Regions from separate parts of the Homo sapiens genome. Here region 1 is linked to region 2. The links are contacts of gene promoters, found by promoter capture Hi-C in human tissues and cell types (Jung and others, 2019). All regions are on one chromosome and are shown on one strand. The core of a region is centred on a gene start or on the middle of the fragment in contact, and the rest is flanking DNA. Distances in the headings are between cores, read along the strand shown.

Region 1 (3,244 bases), core at 455-2,954, 600 kb after region 2:
TCTTATACAGCTAAATATGGTTACATACTTTGTTTAAAAAAATTTTTTTTCCACTAATGACACTTCACATGTATTTCTACATAAACTATCTTTCTATTCTTCTGGGAATGTGTCCTAAGAGCTGACAGACGGACGGTTGAAAATACCCTCACACGGCTGGGCACAGTGGCTCAGGCCTGTAATCCCAGCACTTTGGGAAGCCGAGGCAGGTGGATCACCTAAGGTCAGGAGTTTGAGACCAGCCTGGCCCACATGGCAAAAACCCGTCTCTACTAAAAATACAAAAATTAGCCGGGTGTGGTGGCGGGCGCTTGTAATCCCAGCTACCTCGGGAGGCTGAGGCAGGGGAATCGCTTGAACCTTGGAGGTGGAGGTTGCAATGGGCCAAGATGGTGCCACTGCACTCCAGCCTGGGCAACAGAGCAAGACTCCATCAAAAAAAAAAGAGAGAAAGAGAGAGAAGGAAAGAAAGAAAGAGAGAAAGAAAGAAAGAGAAAGAAAGAAAGAAAGAAACAGAAAGAAAGAAAGGAAGGAAGAAAGAAGAAAGAAAGAAAGAAAGAAAGAAAGAAAGAAAGAAAGAAAGGCCTCAACCACCCAGGCTCAAGCAATCCTTTTACCTCAGCCTCGAAAGAAAGAAAGAAGGAAGGCAGGCAGGCAGGCAGGCAGGCAAGCAAGCAAGCAAGCAAGCAAGCCTTGACCTTCCAGGCTCAAGCAATCCTTTCACCTCAGCCTCCCAAGTACCTGGGTTTATAGGTATGAGCCACCTCTCCTGGCCAAGCATATATTTTTTTCTTTTTTTGAGACAGGGTTTCTCACTCTGTTGCCCAGGCTGGAGTACAGTGGCACAATCATAGCTCCCTGCAGCCTCGAATACGATCCACCTGCCCCGGCCTCCCAAAGGGCTGGGATTACACAAATGAGCTACCACATCTGGCCGATATTTTATTTTTATTTATTTATTTGTTTTTGAGACAGAGTCTCACTCTGTTGCCCAGGTTGGAGTGCAGTGGCGTGATCTTGGCTCACTACAACCTCCACCTCCCGGGTTCAAGTGATTCTCCTGCCTCTGCCTCCTGAGTAGCTGGAATTACAGGCACCTGCCGCCATGCCTGGCTCATTTTTGTATTTTAGTAGAGACGGGGTTTCACCATATTGGCTGGGCTTGTCTCGAACTCCTGACCTCAGGTGATCTGCCCACCTTGCCTTCCCAAAGTGCTGGGATTACAGGCGTGAGCCACCACGCCCGGCCCCAGTCTTTTTTTTTTTTTAATTGGGCAGTCCTCTGAATCAGAGTAAGTTCAGAAAGATTCTAGGAAAACCATGATCTTAATGAAAGTATTTAAGTAAAAATTAAAATGAAAATATAAAACTTAGAAGCAATTTAATTGCCCTGTATAGAAAATTGATCAAGGAATTAATCTGGCTTCATGGAGTAACAGTTTACTCCAGGGGAAAGCTTTACTGATGAAAATCTTTCTGTGTGGTATGACTCTTATTAAAAATTTAGCTCTGTGCTGCCACCTGGGCTTTATGGCTGGGGAGATCCAGTGATACTGAAATTATCTCCTGCCAGTACAGATGCTGTATCAGAGCCTCCTGCAAGTCCCAACTGGACTGTGGCCATGCAGAACTCCAGGGTTCTGGGCAGGTCCATGTCCTCTTTTGCAAGTAACTATTTCACTGGGCCCTGACCGAGATGGAACACCTAGTTCATGGGACATCAAGTGACCCTGTGGCCTGAGCTGCCCGTCACCAACTAGGTGTTGTGTATTACACCAACCGAATTAGGAGTAATTAACAAAAATTTTTTTCTTTTGTAGAGACAGGTCTTGCTATGTTGCCCAAGATGGTCTTGAACTCCTGGCCTCAAGCAATCCTCTCACCTCAGCCTCCCAAAGTGCTGGGATTACAGGTGTGGGCCATGGTAACTGGCCAATTTTTTTTTTTTTTTTTAAGAGACAGGTTCTGGCTGGGCATAGTGGCTCACGCCTGTAATCCCAGCACTTTGGGAGGCCGAGCCGGGTGGATCACGAGGTCAGGAGATCAAACCATCCTGGCCAACATGGTAAAACATTGTCTCTACTAAAAATACAAAAATTAGCTGGATGTGGTGGCACACGCCTGTAATCCCAGCTACTCGGGAGGCTGAGGCAGGAGAATCGCTTGAACCTGGGAGGCGGAGGTTGCAGTGAGCCTAGATGATACCATTGCACTCCAGCCTGGGCAACAAGAGTGAAACTCCGTCTCAAAAAAAAAAAAAGAGAGACAGTGTCTCACTCTGTCTCTCAGGCTAGAGGGCACAGCTCACTGCAGCTTTGAAATCCTTGGCTCAAGTGATCCTCCCACCTCAGCCTCCTGAGTAGCTGGAACTACAGGCATGTGTCACCACGCCTGGCTAATTAAAAAAAAAATTTTATAGATGGGGCCTATGTTGCCCATCCTGGTCTTGAACTCCTGGCCTCAAGCAGTCCTCCCACTTCAGCTTCCCAAAGTACTGGGATTCCAGGTGTGAGCCTGGCAATTAGGAGCAATTAACATAGCTCAGAAATAGTGACTGTCTCTGAGACAGGGATACAATGACTTGGCACTTCGTGTTTATTTTGGAGGGAAGGAGAGATTATTTTTGCTTGTAGAAGGGTAGTTGTATCTTGTTCCATGGAGGCATGAAGTTGTTTTTTCACCACGTTTTTTTTTCTTTTTTTCCGAGTCGGAGTTTCGCTCTTGTTGCCCAGGATGGAGCGCAATGGCATGATCTCGGCTTACTGCAACCTCTGTCTCCTGAGTTCAAGCGATTTTCCTGCCTCAGCCTCCAGAGTACCTGGGATTACAGGCACCCGCCACCACGCATAGCTAATTTTTTTTTTTTTTTTTTTTTGAGACGGAGTCTCGCTCTGTCGCCCAGGCTGGAGTGCAGTGGCGCGATCTTGGCTCACTGCAAGCTCCACCTCCCGAGTTCACGCCATTCCCCTGCCTCAGCCTCCCGAGTAGCTGGGACTACAGGTGCCCACCACTACGCCCAGCTAATTTTTTGTATTTTTAGTAGAGACAGGGTTTCACCGTGTTAGCCAGGATGGTCTCCATCTCCTGACCTCGTGATCCACCCGCCTTGGCCTCCCAAAGTGCTGGGATTACAGGCGTGAGCCACCGCGCCCAGCCTAATTCTTTGTATTTTTAGTAGAGACGGGGTTTCATCATGTTGGCCAGGCTGGTCTCAAACTCCTGACCTCAAGTGATCCACCTGCCT
Region 2 (3,418 bases), core at 218-2,717:
GTCTACTGTTCTCATCTTCTTCTTCTTCATAACCATCTTCATCACCCCCTAGACGAGAAAAGTCATCCTCCCCATAGGCATCAGATACCAATCCGCCTTTCTCCTCTGAAAGGTTAAAAAACAAACAAACAAACAAAAAGCAAGAAAAAAAAAACAAGAGTTACAATGTAAGAAAAAATGTCCAGAGATTTGAGTGGCCAAGACTATCTCTGAAGATACAAAGGGAACCTAAATCTCATGTTAAGTTACAATAGGCCCAGATTCGGCTCTCTGAGAAGGCCAGCATTTACTGAATAAAATCATTAAAAGGTCAGGGAACAAAACCGAGTACTAAATTCTGTTTCTAATGCTATAAACACTAGATAAACACTAAAGTGTTTATAGGAAACCATCAGAGAACTTTCTGACTGGAAGAGACCACACAAAATCACAAAACATGGAAGTACCTAACCTAATCCAATCCCCTTCACTTTCCAGATGAGGAAGCTAAGGTCCTGATATGTTGTTAGGTAACTTGTTCTTTATTCTCCCAAAGGAATCTGTTTCCATTATCTAACATTGTGCTTCTCAACCTGAGGAGGAGAACATCACCGTTAGGCTTTAAAAACTCACAAAATAAGAAAAATCACCTGGGATCCTTAAAAAGTTCACAAATGCCCACATCCTACCCCAGTTCTACCGAATTAGGTTCTCTCACTTTGGGCATCAGATACGTTTGTTTTTAAAAGCTCCAAGATGTGTTTAGGGCACATTCCTAACTAAAAGTTATAAAGTTAACGAACACAATCTTTACCATCTTCCACGTATGTTTTACTTATCGCTCTCCCTCATCAAACAACGAGCCCAGGGGAAACAGGCAGTGGCTGAGCAGCCGCTCCCTCTTCGTCCATCCCTCTGTCTATCACTATAGCCGGCACGGAGTCTTTCAGTAAGTTTAGGCAAATTAATCGAAATAACGGGAAGGAGATTCTTCATTCTTAGTCCACAGTCTCTAATGCTCTATCTCACCCCGGACCCTGGACCATTCTTCGGGGTCCGGTGCTTGGAGCACAATGACCATCTTGTTCCCTCCCGCCCAGCGAGGGTACAGCATTCCGGGCAGACACCCGATTCCCCCTTCCAGCTTCGCACTTGGGCCTTACCAGCCGCGCTGCCCACCGCCTCGATTCCAGCCTCGCCATCAGACTCGGGCTCTGAATCTTCCGCGTAAACTGCGAGAGACGACAGAACATTCTTCTTCCCCGCCATCTTATTCCCACAGCCCGGGCGTGGCTCACTCCTATGACTCAAGACGCCGACTTCCGGGCGGAAAGGCAGGTTCTTTCGGATCCCAGGAGACCCCCGCGCCACACTGGAAACCAATCAAAACGGCAGTTTCCTGCGCCTGGCTCCGCCCTCATGCCAGCGCTCGCGCTACGTCATCACTGCGCGACGGATATAAGATTGCGTGGGTTCTGCCTAAAGCTGAATTCCCAGCGCTTTGGCTTCTCTGAGTTGGGGTTGTGTATAGGGGTCTTCGAACAGTTCCGGAACCAGCCAGCAGCCTTTAATTCTTGGGCGGACCACGGCCGGTTCTGATATCTTAGGGTGAAGAGAGGGAGGTGTCGGCCAGCCAAGAGAGAAAATTGCGGATCTTGGGCTCAGGAAGACGGGAGAAGGGGTTCGGGGTCCCGGGGTGGAAGAACGGTCGTCGTGGTTGCGCTTATAGAAGTAGGAGCAGGTGGTGGATCTTAGGAAAACGGTTCCCCGTTCTCCAAGCTGTTCTGAAGACATTTATGTTTCTTCTCTTGATCTGATTTCTAGCTCTGTGCTATACCGTGGCCTGGAATAGTTCAATGTTTTCATTTTCATTGAGCGTAAAAGTGGAGATGTTAATTACTGAGGAATGTATTGCTTGAGGCAGTTCACCTTCAGCTTTATTACTTAAAAATAATACATTATTTAAGTGTAATATAGCAAATTGTTACAGAAAAATAATCTGTATTTTTAATGCAAAACAGAGGGTTCTCGTGGCAACCTTTTACTACCTTTGCCTTAACCTTTGGCCACTGTTCTTGGCTAAGATGAGCAGCCACCATACCACCTTTCCTTTTGACCCTGAGCGGCGAGTCCGGAGTACGCTGAAGAAGGTCTTTGGGTTTGACTCTTTTAAGACGCCTTTACAGGAGAGTGCGACCATGGCTGTAGTAAAAGGTAACATTACCAAGCTACCTTCCTTTAAATTTATGCTGGCTATACCATAACGCTGCGGCAGAACACCCTCCTCCTCACCCTTCGTACTGCCTCACCTTTGGTCCATAACTGGATTTGGAAATCTTTAGAGTTGTCAAAGCTTGTAGTTTCGTTTATTTGTTTTAATTAGAGATGGGGTCTTGGCATGTTGCTCAGGCTGGTCTCCAAATCCTGGGCTCAGGCAATCCTCCCACCTCGGCCTCCCAAGGTGCTGGGATTACAAGCATGAGCCACCACGCCCGGCCCAAAGCTTGTAGTTTTAGTGGCAGAACCACCCAGCTGGTCTATATTTCATAGCTAGATTTACACATGGTCTTTGAAAACACTTCAGATTCTCATTATTGTTCGTTTGTACACACAAACGAACAGCAACAGTGAGGGTGGTAGGAATAACTTAACTCGGTCACTGGCCTCCTAGGTAATTCCCTTGTTGCAGGTTGAGTGGCCTTGGTCCCAGATAGAGAAGGAAAGAGTAATAATGTTATAAACCTGAGATACGGTGACAAATGGAAGTTGCCAAGAGGCGAGCAGCAATGTAATATTAATGATACATGTCTAAACAAAAGCCCTCTAAGTAATGTCCTCTCATGTCTACACAGATGTACCCACTCATCTAGCAGTACTCTGCTTTCATGGCTGTTTAGTTCAATCATCCATATCACAGCAGACTCAGACTTCTTTTTTTTTTTTTTTTTTTTTGAAACAGAGTCTTGCTCTGTCGCCCACACTGGAGTGCAGTGGCGCGATCTCGGCTCACTGCAACCTCCGCCTCCTGGGTTCAAGCAATTCTCCTGCTTCAGCCTCCTGAGTAGCTGGGATTACAGGCACGTGCCACCATGCCTGGGTAATTTTTGTATTCTTAGTAGAGACAGAGTTTCACCATGTTGGCCAGGCTGGTCTCAAACTCTTGCCCTCGTGATCTGCCTGCCTTAGCCTCCCAAAGTGCTGGGATTACAGGCGTGAGCCACTGCGCTTGACCCAGACTTTTTAAATCTTGTTTTTAACCATTACTAGAAATGGTTTGGGCATGTATCCAAGTTTCCCAGGATCCTTGCCTTTTTCATAGAAAGGACAGGAGGGGAATTAGGATTACATCGAGACCCTCCCATGTGCCAGACACTCTGCTAGGTGCTTTTCCTACATTCTCATTTAATTTTCAACAACTTCAATGAAAAGGCAGGAAGCA

The links. Contacts are between HindIII fragments. The study calls those that stand out against the background at their distance.
Region 1: a fragment that was not itself captured here is called in contact with the fragment with the promoter of RECQL5 in region 2 in 1 of the 25 tissues and cell types used here (hippocampus).

The regions. Positions count from the first base shown.
Region 1 is chr17:75,068,291-75,071,534 of GRCh38, reverse strand. No RefSeq gene overlaps it. Among named protein-coding and RNA genes, the nearest start is that of SLC16A5, 18 kb to the left of the region's middle. The HindIII fragment of the contact is 6,760 bases long and covers 1-3,244 here.
Region 2 is chr17:75,665,203-75,668,620 of GRCh38, reverse strand. It overlaps RECQL5 (RecQ like helicase 5), which reads left to right and starts at 1,467. Exons shown (of 20, transcript NM_004259.7): 1 at 1,467-1,577; 2 at 2,050-2,193. The coding sequence starts at 2,064. It overlaps SAP30BP (SAP30 binding protein), which reads right to left and starts at 1,283. Exons shown (of 11, transcript NM_013260.8): 1 at 1,143-1,283; 2 at 1-105. The coding sequence starts at 1,248. RefSeq lists enhancers at 1,042-1,291, 1,462-1,561, 1,143-2,342. The HindIII fragment of the contact is 12,020 bases long and covers 1-3,418 here.